3 separate regions of the Homo sapiens genome follow, and all the other regions are linked to region 2. Evidence: promoter capture Hi-C in 16 types of primary human blood cells and fetal thymus (Javierre and others, 2016). All regions are on one chromosome and are shown on one strand. Each heading gives the region's core, a stretch centred on a gene start or on the middle of the fragment in contact. The rest is flanking DNA. Distances are from core to core; before and after follow the strand shown.

Evidence for each region. The method cuts DNA at HindIII sites, captures the fragments that hold promoters and counts their contacts. A CHiCAGO score of 5 or more calls a contact.
Region 1: a contact is called between a fragment that was not itself captured here and the fragment with the promoter of MAP2K3 in region 2, in 14 of 17 cell types (naive CD8 T cells, fetal thymus, erythroblasts and 11 more). The highest score is 10.6, in naive CD8 T cells.
Region 3: a contact is called between a fragment that was not itself captured here and the fragment with the promoter of MAP2K3 in region 2, in 3 of 17 cell types (M0 macrophages, M1 macrophages and M2 macrophages). The highest score is 5.8, in M0 macrophages.

Annotation. Positions count from the first base shown.
Region 1 is chr17:21,210,277-21,214,780 of GRCh38, forward strand. It overlaps TMEM11 (transmembrane protein 11), which reads right to left and starts at 3,885. Exons shown (of 2, transcript NM_003876.3): 1 at 3,815-3,885. The coding sequence starts at 3,876. It overlaps TMEM11-DT (TMEM11 divergent transcript), which reads left to right and starts at 4,049. Exons shown (of 2, transcript NR_184102.1): 1 at 4,049-4,174. RefSeq lists an enhancer at 3,787-3,886 and silencers at 3,967-4,106, 4,227-4,496. The HindIII fragment of the contact is 571 bases long and covers 2,375-2,945 here.
Region 2 is chr17:21,283,226-21,287,163 of GRCh38, forward strand. MAP2K3 (mitogen-activated protein kinase kinase 3) reads left to right here and starts at 1,486. Exons shown (of 12, transcript NM_145109.3): 1 at 1,486-1,744. The coding sequence starts at 1,696. RefSeq lists enhancers at 558-1,058, 3,135-3,194 and a silencer at 945-1,474. The HindIII fragment of the contact is 5,771 bases long and covers 1-2,465 here.
Region 3 is chr17:21,167,919-21,171,928 of GRCh38, forward strand. All of the region lies in intron 1 of DHRS7B (dehydrogenase/reductase 7B), which reads left to right. Among named protein-coding and RNA genes, the nearest start is that of DHRS7B, 43 kb to the left of the region's middle. The HindIII fragment of the contact is 506 bases long and covers 2,507-3,012 here.

The sequences.
Region 1 (4,504 bases), core at 1,410-3,909, 72 kb before region 2:
TGAAGAGGATGAACCCCATCCTTACCTACGAATCCAACTTCTGCGGCCAGAACATGTGGCTTTGCCTTTGTTAAAGAGCTGAGCAGAATCCCACAACCAGTGGCTAAACCCCCACACACTTGGGTGCAGATCCCGTATCTGCTCATCTCATCCCAGCCAGAAGGAAACAAAAACTCCCGCCACACACAAAAGCAAGCATGGAGTCTTTCAAGAGAGATTAAATACTCCCAAAGCCTGAGAGTCTAAAAGGGAAGGATCAGATCAGAAAGGGAAGCTGTCACCCCGGGACCATGACCCAACCTGCCCCCGGGGCCTGTGCTCCATCTGCTCACTGGATGAACGTGTAAGGGCCACCTGGGACCAGGCACACCTGAGTTCACAAAGAAGAGGACAGGTCCTGGGGAATAAAGCATGGCAAGGAAAGCCATGAAAGTCAGCCCAGGGAACTGGCTGCCTATAAAACGCTGGAGCAGATGGCCGCGCAAGCCAGGGGAGGGGCAGGCCACAACAAATAACTTCGCGCTAAACCTGAACTTTTAGCCCCGTGCATCTGGCCCTCTGCACACCCCAGGTTGCCTCATATCATGCTCAGAAGCAGATCAAGTACATCTTCACGTGATTATAAAAACAGGAACTCAAGAGCACACAGCTATACTCACATTCCAACAATCACGGAGGGCTCTGGGAGGTTCAGGGGCCCTGAGACAGTGAAGCCGAGCAGCCCAAGTAAGACAGGCAGGGCTGTCTGTGAGCTGGTCCGGGCTGGCACACGGTGGCAGAACACAGATACCTGCACTGTGCTTTCCTAGATGGGCAAGTGTGTCTCAAAGACGCCGACAGGACAAGTGGCAATCTGTTTGATGTGCTCGTTGCCAGTGTGCTGAATTTTGGACAAGAATTCAGGTTACAGCTCAGAGTCTGATGTTCTTCATTACAAACACTGTTGGTTCCCTAGATTTAATGGAGTGGAGAGAAAAATCAACATGCAAGCACTACCATTTTGCTATTTCCACCCCTCCTATCTTAGTCGAAACCAGCACTGTCCATATCATAACTTTCTGCAGTGATGGAAATGTCCTCCACCTATGCTGTCCAATATGGTAGCCACAGGCCGGAAGTGGCTATTGAGCACTTGAAATGTGGCTAGTGAGACTGAGGAGCTGAATTCTTCATTTTACTTAATTTTAATGAATTTAAATGTAATTGCCACATGTAGCTGGTGACTACTGAACTGCTGTGTTAATTCAGCACTAATTCTAGAGCTGTGGTTCTAGACTCAACAAGGTAAAGCAAGAACCCACACGCTACACGTGCTAAACTGGACCATCCAACACACAGCGCCGGCAGTAATACTGCAGGCAGTCTGGCACTGGGTGGGACCTTTAAGTACAATGCATGCTTCAGAGTTGGTAGCCGCTGGCAAATCTGGCAAGTGTGCCCAAAGTGTCACTCTGTTCTAGCCCCTTCCCCAAACCAGATAATGTTTCCCTCAGCTTCAGCAAAAGCAGATGCTAACCAGGTGTGAGCAGCAACGGGAGAGAGCACTCGTATAACATGGAGCTGAGATTTGAGTCAGCACGAATGTGACATGGAACAAAGTCATTTTAGAGAGCCATAAACAGCCTACTTCAGTCATAAGAGCCAATAATACACTCAGATCTCATAATCTAGAGTGCTGGGCCATCAGCTAATCCGCCCTGCCCCACCTGAACAGTCATCACCAACTGAGCAGGAATGGAGGGATGCCCAGAAGTCAGCTCGCTAGCCCCACAGCGGGTTATGTTTCCATCCCCTGCTCAGCATGGGAAGAGCTTAGGGAAGCTGGGCTCGGGGAAATGACTCTTCCAACAGAACCTGGCTAGGGGTTTACAGCAAGAGCAAACAGACAGGTAGTCTCCACCCATACCACGTTATCTAGGAGAGTAGATGGTGACATCCAAACTACAAAACCAAATGCCACATTCCTGCTGACACACAACATCTGCGTGTGTGAGTAGAGCCTTCAGTTCCAGGCCAAAGGTGCAACCTGAACACCTACAGAGACCAAGCAGGCAAATGCATTGAGTCAAGCTGACAGGTGATTTGAGTCAAGCTGTCAGGTGATTTGAGTCAAGCTGTCAGGTGAGGAACCAAGAACTGGAACCAAGCACTTGTCCCGACCAAAAAGAGTCAGCCACTACCCAGCTTTTCAGGGAGCGTTTTATATGAAATCTGCTGGCAACTAATTTAAATTCTCTTAAAAACTGTTGAGGTTCAACAGTCAAGGACTGGATCCAGCCTATGCACTGCTAATTTGCAGATCCATTTTGAATAAACAGTTGTCTCAAGCCAAAACAAAAACAATTCTCAGCATCTATTTTCTTAGATCAATAAAAGCTTAACCTGTGCTGGCAAGGCTCCTGTTCCCTGCCTGAGGCATCCCTATTCGGCTCTTTTCAGATGCTTTTAGTCCAACAAGAGGGCGTATGTTTCTAATACTTTGTTTTCTAAACAGGTTATTTCGTATTACTGTTTGCATTGAATATCTTGAAAATGTTTGCTAGTTTTTAAGAGCATCTGAAAACCATTGAGGTAACTTATTTAAATGGTCCAATCTAATACCAGGCGGGAGTTAGAAAAACAAAAGTGTGTTTACCACTGCTTTTCCAAGGAAGAGGAAATGCAGAATGGGCAACGCTGGATAACTGGGCTAAAGAATAAAGTGCAAGCAAGCTAAAGGATTCTATCACAACTGCCAAACAGGAAGAATCTTCCCAGCTGGGAAAGCCATCTGCAAGCAATAGCAATGAACACGGGATGGAATCAGTCACAGAAAAGGAATAATGCAGAGTAGTTGAGAGGAAGATAACTTTTCTGTTAGACAATCCTCACCAAAAAGACGGGGAGGGGGAGAACCAGCAAAACAAAAACTTTTCCTTTTTTGCTGACCGCTGCTATAACAATCAAGCTTTAGCGGACAGTTAATCCAGGTGGCTCCACCAATACATCTTCTCCCAAATTTCTAGTGGCTGAACAGCTTCTAGTGGTTTCCACTAGCTGAAACTGCTTCCCAGATGCAAAAACTGCAACTTGAACATGAAACACGGAAACTACTCCAATCTCATCTTCTAGAAATCAGTTATTCAAATGGAGGTCCCTGTTGGAAGAAACACGCTCCTAGCTCCCTGCCCACACACCATTCATTAGGAAAGGTCACTTTAAAGGACTTCTACGGCAGGAGCGCTTGCACAGAACCATCCAAAAGTCTTCAGAATCTTCCCTCGAGGAAGTGGCCGGCTCTGGGCTCGGAAGAGACACATCTGGCGGGAGCTAAAGCTCCCTAGTAAACGTGCAGATCAAACTACCCCTGCCGCGGCCGGCCTGCTCTGTGAAGGCTTCCCCTTCTTTCTCTCTCCGGGGGCCCTGCCTTCCTCTACACGTCTGGGGCCGCGGCCGAGATGGCCACGCGCGTGCCCAGGCGGGAAGGGTGCTTCAGCAGCCGATCGGCCCGCGGGCAGCTAGGCGGGTCCCTGAGGCCTGCGCTGGGCGCCAGTTCCTTTCAGCACGGCCCGGCCTCGGGCCCCGCCCCGCATGGCCGCTGCCTACCTTACTCAGCCCGGCTAACGCCCCTTCCCCTAAGCTCTCCGCCGAGGCCTTCGACCTCGCTCCCACCCGGATCCCGGATCCTCCGGAACTGGAACCCAGTATGCCCGGCGAGGGTAGGGGGAGCGCGGGGAAACCAGGGAAGGAAGGCTGCTGCAGCCCTCGGAGGCCGCGCTGGGCTCTCCGGCCGCTGAGCCGCCTGCACTGGGGGCAACAAGCCCTTGGATCTCACCTCTCTCGGGCGCTGCCGCCACTGCTGCCCGGGCCAAGACGCCTCCTTCCCCAAGCGGCCATCTTGGAGACACTCTGCTTGCCAACGTCTCGCGCCAAGGCGGCATCGGGAGAGCAGGCGGGCCGACGGGAAGTGTAGTCCGGCCTGCGGTCCGGGGCCGCTCGGCAGGCGGAAGCCAGACCCGGCGGAACTACCGTGCCCACAAGGCAGCGCGCCGGAAGCCCCGCCCCCGGGGTCGCCGGGGCCCGTAGTCCTTCTGCGAGGGCGCGAGGACTCCAGGAGCCGTCCTGGTTCGAGCATTTCTGAAGAAACTGAGTTCCCGGCGTTCGCAGCCTGGGAGTCACAGGCGCCCACCCACCGGTAGGTCCTTGAGTTTCGAGAGCCAGTAGCTGAAGGAGAGAGGAGAGGCAAGTGCCTACAACTCCCAGAGCACTGCGCGGAGGCGCCCGGCCGCGCTGTCCTGGCCGCCAGGCTGCCTCTCCCGCTGGGGGCCGCCGCGCTGTCTGCGGGCTACTAGCGCCGGGCCCCTCCGCGTCGCCACGCCTGCCCTTCACAGCCTTGGCCCATAAGGTCACCGAGGGGCGGGAGGCGCCGCCCGGGCCCTCCTTGGAGGCGGGCGCTGCTCCCGCACCATCCTCCCCCAGTTCTCTTAGACTCCGGGGTACTTTGGAGGCCGAGACAGACACGCTG
Region 2 (3,938 bases), core at 236-2,735:
GCACAGAGCTGCTCAGTGACTTCTTTAAGGTCATCCAGCTAGTAAGTGGAGGAATTGGTATTGGAACCCATACCTATCTGAGCCCCAGACTCATGATTTTCCATCCCACTGCCTGGGAAGGGTGAACAGGAGACGCAGGAAGAGAATGGTGATGGCTGCAAGGCTTCCCTCTTATCTCCTGTGGCTCCCCACTCTGTGCATGGGGCCCTGCATCACCCCCACTTTACACCTGGGCAAGCAGAGGTCAGGCCCGGCCTCAAGCCTTTCTAGCAGGTGGTGGAATCTGCTTCCCTCACGTGAGGTCCCTGACAGGGTACACATGTCTGCCTGGAGGCCAGGGGCTGACCCCTTGACCTTTGCCTGGTACATTCTGCCTTCACTAGCCCTGGCTTTACATCCAGAGTCATCTGTTCCCAGCGCCAGATTGGTCAGCGGTTCCTGAAATCCCCCGAGGTTCCGTGTGGGAGCAGAGGGAGGACTGGCCCATCCAGCCATTATGCAGATGGGCAGACTGAGATCCTAGGAGGAGAGGAGAGAACGAAGGTCCAGGAGAGAGCCAGGATGGGGCCTCGGGGCTCGCGGGATAAAATGCACCGCATGCCGCCTCACTCCCTCTGAGACACGGTTTCCCCCTGTGTAGAACAGGGGCAGCAGTAACCAGCCACGAAAACTCCTCGTGCTGCCTCGTCACCGGGCATCGCTGAGCTCACCACCGACCCCGCGCCCTGGCCGGGCGCCTGGAGCGCGGGCGCGGGCGACGTTTGCTGGCGCCAGGCCCTCAGTGCGTGTTAGCGAGCAGCGCCGGGAGATAGCTGTCACCGCCGCCCGCTCACAGATGCGTAGACTGAGGCTCAGGTGTCACCACCTGACCAAGGCTAGTTCCGCTACAAAGCTGCCGACTCGGATCCGAACCCGGGTCCAATTTACAGAAAAGGAAACTGAGGCCCAGAGACACTAGGGAGCTTGCTAGGGTGAGGCAGCTGCAGGTTCAGAGAGCCAGGAGGCAGCCCAGCAGCGCACTTTTAACCCCCGCCCACTTCGGCAGGCCCAGCCGTGCCACCTTTAGGGATCTCGGGTTTTTTCCAGACGACGCACCCAGGAGAACGCGCCCGCGCATCGCACCCGCCGGGGCTGCGGGTCTGGGGGTGCCGGGCTGGGCCTGGGCGCCTGCAGGGAGCAGCGGGCTCAGTGGGTCCCGGGAGTGGGTGGGGCTTGCATGTTGACGGGCAGCGCGAGGGGCGCGGCTTTAGTCCAGGGGGCGGAGCCTGACCGGACCTGGGTTTTTCGGGCGGCTGGCGGACTTGACAGAGAGCGGGAGGGGCCCGGATCCTGGGCCTAAGGAGGGTGGGGCGTGTGCTTGACAGGCAGGGACAGGCCGGCGTCTGATAGGCAGAGGACGGGCCTTGGAAACGAAAGGACCAATCGGGCACGCAGGGGCGGGGCCTGAGTCAGCGCAGTTCGGCCGGGGTCTCCCCGGCGCTGCCCAGTCTGTCTCCGGCGCCGCCCGTCGCGGACTCGTCCTTGCTGCAGTCGCCGCCGCAGTCCTCGCCGCAGTCGCCGCCGCCGCCGCCGCCGCCGCCGCTGCTCCTCCGCCTGGCCTGGGCCGTCTGCCCGCAGCCATGAGCGTGCTCGGCCCCGGTGGAGCCCGCAGTCCTCTAGATTAGTCTCCACCGCCGTCCAGGACCCACTTGCAGCATGGAGTCGCCCGCCTCGAGCCAGCCCGCCAGCATGCCCCAGTCCAAAGGTAGGCGCTCCCGGCCGGGACCTCGGCCTGACCCCGCGCCTAATCTGGGGCCGGGCTGCAAACCCCGACCTTTCTTTGGTCCCACCCCATCCTGTTCTCGACCTGGCAGCGGCGTCCGGTCCCGGAACCCCTTCCTGTTCGGGGTCCCGGGACCAGCCCCCGCCTGGGCCCTCACCTGGACCCCCACGTTAGGCCTTGGGACTGCACTCAGGCCCGAGATCACCCAGGCTGGACCCAGACTAGGACTTTGTTCTGCTCACCCCATCCAAGTCAGGAGCCTCATTCTGACCTCATTTGGGCCTTATGGCTGCAGCCTGGACATGAACTCTCCCAGTCTTCTCCCTCAGCGGGACCCAGGTGAGATTCACACTGGCCTTCACCTGGGTCCTTGGGCAGCACCCAGTCCCATTTCTAGCTTCGGGTCCCAGGGCTGTATCCAGGTTGGGATTTAACTTGAGTCTCCATCTGGGCCCCAGAGTGCTCCTGTTGTTGCGGACCTCACTGTACCCCCTATGCGGGTGCTCTGGCTACACCCCAGCTCGGAACTCCCCGTCCTTCTCTCCCCCAGCTCTTCTTATCCTTATAGGCCCTATGTTGCCCCTTCCCTGGCTGGCCTGCACCCTGTCCTGCAGCCCTGGGCTCCCAGGAACCTTCCTTGTCCTCCCACCCCTCCCTAAGGTACAGCCCCCTCTCTACCGGCCTCTCTCTGTCTTGAGTTGCAAGCTTCTCCCTGCACTGGGGGTTCTCACCCCATCTTATTCTTGTCCTGGCTGCCTGGGATCTGGGCCAGCCGCCAGGCCAGGGTGCTGGCTGTGCAAGGGATTTGCTCTTCTCCAAGTAGCTGGCCTTCCTGGAAATTTTTGTGAGGTGGCAGCAGCAGGATTTGTCATGCGGAGGGGGAAGGATGAAACTCGGAGGGCAAAAGGGGAATTTTTTTTTTTTCAGGAAGAGGAAAGGATGTTTTTGGTGCGTCGGAGTTTCAGTAGGCTGGGTTGTGCGAGAGATTTCCAAACCGGACATAGCCGTAATGAATGGGCTGCCTCCTGGCTTTCTGAACCTGCAGCTGCTTCACCCCAGCAAGCTCCCTGGTGTCTCTGGGCCTCAGTTTCCTTTTCTGTAAATTGGAAGTAATCGCACCTGCTTCTGTGGACGTGGGAGTGTGGTGTGGGGTGGTGAATAGTAAAGAGCTCTGAGGCGTTCTCTCAGCGTAGCACCTGGCGCAGAGCCGGTGCTCACCAGGGTACACTGGCTGCACACATCTCGCTATTGTTTCCATTCTTCTTGCTGGAAAGGCCTCCACTGCTGGAAGTGCAGCCTCAGAGTGAGCAGGAGGAAGCACCTAGCAGCGGGCACCTAGTGGGCACTTCATCAGGGGTCAGCCGCTCTTCTGTTCTGGAGGGTGCAGGCCAATGGGAGCCCTATGTGGGCCTGGGGAGGGCATGGGCTCTTCCTGGCCCCTGCTGCTGGCTGCTATGGTGGCTGGAGCCGGGTGGGCTGGATAATTATGCCTTACATAAGTGGGAGGCCGGATCCCTGACCATTGCCCAACCACTGTGAGTAACTCGGGAGGCACTCGACGGGGGAGGTGTCTGGGGAGGGACTTGCACTGCACAGACCTCGTGGAGCTTGGGAACCAGGAAATCAGACACTTCTCCACTCTGGAGAGCTCGGGGAAGGGTAGGAAGCACTGTTTGTTTTGGAGGCTTTTTAGCTCTCCAGGCAGAGAATGCCTCATCAAAATAAAAGTTCCAGTTGCAGAGTTGTGAAAGGAGAGGGGTCATAGATGCAGTGAGAATGCTGTGAGAGGGCCAAAATGAACTTCTAGATGTGGACCCAGGTCCTAGATGAGGTTGAGGGGGCTGGATGGAGGGTCAGGGACCTCCCTCAGGCCCAGGGACTCTGTAGTCTCTTTGGGGTCTGGGGAAGGATGTGGTGGCAGAGCCACAATGCCCTTCACCAAAAACCCTATGAGCTCCTTCTTTTTTTCCATGTGCCATGCATTTTCTCATTTATTCCTCATAGCCCCATTTACTGATAAGGAAACTGAGGCGTTAAGTGCCTTGCCTGAGGCCACACAGCTGTGACAGGCGGAGCTAGGGTTCCCCCTAGGACTGTGTTTCCACAGTGGCCTTCCCCGTGCTCCCCTATGTGCCCCTCCCATGCTGGATGCCTGAGCTGAGCTGGTGGGGTGCCC
Region 3 (4,010 bases), core at 1,510-4,009, 110 kb before region 2:
CCCTTTGACCTTGCTTTATGTAGATTTATTTCCTAATCTGGAAATGTGGCCAGCTAGAACACTGTTCCTTTCTTCCACTGTGAAGCTGTCCTTTTAGCTGGTAGAAAGCCCTGGACACCACAGCAAGGTGGTGGGGCTTTCCATGGCTAGCTCTCATGGTCATCCTGACTTCCAAAGACAAGCTAGGAAAGTGTTGGCACAGCTGTCTCTAAGAACCCAAGAAGGCCCAGCAGTGTGGCCACATGCCCTGCATAGTGGAAGAACTATTAGGAGGGCTTTCAGAGTTTGAAAAACTCTGGAAAGAGTCGGGATTATCAATATGAACAACTTCATCTAGTCAGGAAAGTTATGCTGGAATTGAACCTGATTCTCAGATAAATGGCTCACTCTGGGGTGTCTTTTCCCACCATGGTCATTCTTTGTTAGCAGGGGAGAGTTGGCACTGGATTTTGTTTTTTGTTTGCTTTTGAGACAGGGCCTCACTTTGTCACCCAGGCTGGAGTGCAGTGGTGCAATCTTGGCTCACTGTAGCCTCAACTTCCTAGGCTCAAGCAATCCTCCCACCTCAGCCTCCCAAGAAGCTGGGACTACAGACGTGCACTACCATACCTGGTTAGTTTATGTGTTTTTTGTAGAGACGGGATTTCACCATGTTGCCCGGGCTGGTCTTGAATTCCCAGGCTGAAGCGATCCCCCTACCTCAGCCTCCCAAAGTGCTGGAATTACAGGCGCGAGGCACTGCGTTTGGCCTTGGCACTGGCTTTTAATTTGCTTTGCATTCTGATTCGATAGCACTTTACCAGACTGAATGCAGACATGCGCTCTCCCCACAGACAGCGGCCCGGGCCAAGGATGGATCCCATTCACCCGGCGCCATGTTTGCCTCAGGCAAAGTGGTCTCCAGGGCCAGGAGACCAAGGCTGGCCTGTGATGTTGTGTCAGGTGCTCAAGGAATCCCAGAAGTGTACAAGACGGTGTGTAGTTTTCGCTCTTTTCTTCATGTCATGGATTGCTGGCTTGAGTTTTAATTAGGTTGCATGAAAGTGCAATTTGTTGGGAACTTTAATCATCTTCCACTGGGGAGCCTTGCTGGGCTGGTTTATTTTCATCCTGCTCCTCCCTGGGTGTGAAGACGGGGTTGAGGGACATTTTAGTACCTGTCTGCTCTCTCCTGCTTTGCTGGCCTTGATAACCACATTTTCTAACACAAAACTTGGGACATGAGAGCCTGACTTCTGCCAATGTTGTGGAGTTTTTTCCTATTTGTTAATTTGATTAAACTGAAAGGTTTATGAAAATATAGAAGTTAAACAACATTGGACACTTAATACATTTAATGAGCTTCCTTTATTTGGAAAGAACCACACTTCACAAGCCAGGGGTCCCTTCAGACAGTCTTGGGAGTCGGATTGCTGGGAGGTGAGGTCCTGATCCAGGAACTTTGAGTTAATGGTGGTCATTATGATGCTGGTGGCAGCTGTGTTCCCTCTGTGTACAGATGAATTCATCCAACCTCATAACAAACCCAGGAGGGAGGTCCTCTCACAACTTCAGCTCAGAGGCGAGGACACTGAGGCCCAGGGCAGTGAGGCCCCTTTGCCAGGCTGCCAAGTGACTGGGCCAGGGTGTCACCCAAGCCAGGCTGGCTTGAGGGTTCATCCTCATGACCCCTGCACTGCCGCTGTTGTGCTGCAGTTAGTGTTTTTCAAGTGGTCTCTGAGTTTTGAGAAGCGACAGGCTGCATACTTGGCTCTTGACCCCCATGACCTCGGTGGCACTGTGCCTCAGCCCCAGGTTGTCAATTTGAAATTGGGTGGACTTCACAGGCACTGGCCTCCAGGGGCCCACGGAGGAGTGTTCGGAGGGGTTTCCACCCAACACGCCTAGTGGGGCTCTGGGTCCCGGCCCCAGAGGCTGAGCCCTACTATCCTTCCCTGAGCTGAGGCCCCCACCCCTTTCATACCTCAAGCTCATCCTGGGCAGTGGCTGGGCCCTGGGCCATTCTGGACAAGGCAGGGTGGTCCTACCCTGAGACCTACCTGGTACAAAGACCTGGGATTGCAGTGAGAAAAAAGCTTTTACCAAATAGCCATCCAGCCGGGTTGAACTCTTCCCAAGCCCCCACCCCTCAACCAGCTTATTACATGCAAGTTTTAAGCTATCCTTGCCTGGAGCCTTCTCTTGCCTTTTGTCAATTGCTGTAATTTTCTGGTAAAGCTATATCAACAAAATGGCAACCATTCCTGCCTCCCACTGTTTATCCCTCCTTCCCCTAGGAAACCCTCCCACATTCCCTGTTTTCAGGATCTTGGTCCCGTGCAGGACTCCAGGCAGCACCCACAGAACCCTGGAGTGGCACAGGCCTCGGTGCCTACTCTACAGCTTTCCTGAGCACTTCTCAGATTCCACACAAAGGGTCCTTGGGACCCAGCATAGCCTGCAGGCAAGAACACCTGGTCAGAACTTCCTCTTGGGGCAGGGATGGTACCAGTAGTGCCTGGTGAAAAGCTTGGTGCTTTAGATACCACCTTAATCCCCAGTTCATACAATGGAGGCTTGGCATAGTGTAGGGCAAGAGGGAGCTTTATCCATGCAGCAGATAGTAGCTGAGGTGTTTTCAGAGGTGGATTAAGTGGCAGTTGATGGGAAACTGTCATTTTTACAGTCCAAGAATGTGGCTGTTTTTTATGGTGGTTAAGAATTCAGGTGTATCTGGAAAAGCAGGTGAAAAAGTAAATGCTAATCTAGTTCAGTTGACAGTTCCGTTGCAGTAGAATCCTCTTGTAGGGGGCAATTTAGCATAGATCAGGACAGCCACCCTGAACATGAACTTCAGGATCAAAGCGACTTGGTGCATAGATGGATGTGTGTTGGGAGTCCACAGTGTTCCTGGCTTCACTCTGGCATCCAGAGTTGATGTCCTCTTACGAAAGGAAGCAGAATTTTTTTTTTATATGTGGGCTTGAGATGGGATATTAAGTAGGTGGCTGAGGGTTTTACATTATTGCTCCAAGCTTATGAATAATTTAGAGCTACAGTCTGGTTTGCCAGAACTCTCTTCTTGGATTCCAGCCTCTTCCTTCCTGAGAAGGATTCTGTGCTCGTAAACCACAGCCCTGGAGGTGGACTCGGGGGGGGCCTTTTGTCTCATAGACTCTGGCTCGCTCGTCAAGTGGCCTTCCAGGGCATTGCTTCCCAGCGACAGCACATGGTGCTCACCACGGTCCTCACCAGCTCCTCCTCAGCCTTCCTTTAACCCTGTGTCCCCCTCTTATCTCCTGCTTTGGGCACAGGAGGACAGGTGAATGCGGAGGAATGGGGGAGGTTCAGGGGAAATAAGGGCAGATGGGGAAAAACACACATTTTCTAAGAATCAACTGCACACTGTTGCACAGACACTCATACAGCCTCCAGATTTCATGGCTCACTGGGGAATGCTGGGCAGGAACATGCCACAGGCACAGCGGGGCAGCACGCTCACCGGCCGGAGCCCATGCTGGTGCTTGGGGCAGGGCCCTGCACTGAATCCCCTTTGGGTGTCTGTGAGGCCTGTGGTCAGAAGTCCATCTGTGGCCCTCACTGTAACAGTCTAGGGGCTGCTCCACCCAGAAACGTCCGTCCTCTGAGTGTCTGCTCTGAAGAGGATAAGAATTGGTACGACTTCCTTTTTCCTTTCCTCAAAAAACCCCTTTCTAGTTTCACAAGTATTCAGGGATTGAAAATGAAAACAGGCATTACTTGAGGTAAGGCCAACACAGGTTTCCGAAGGAGAGGCAGGTGAGTACTGACACACCACCTCTTCCTGTAACACTGTGGGTGACTATGTCCTAGGCTGAATGGCAATCTCCGCTTGTTCCCTGAGGGGCAGCATGAGGCCTGTGGCTTTTCTGTCCGCTCATGTCAGTACTGAGAGGAAGAAAGTTCTACAATGCTGAACAGTCGGCCGAGGGTGCAGGGCCTGGGTCAATGCTTGCTAGGGCTTAGAGCTGGAGTCCACAGAGGGAGATCTG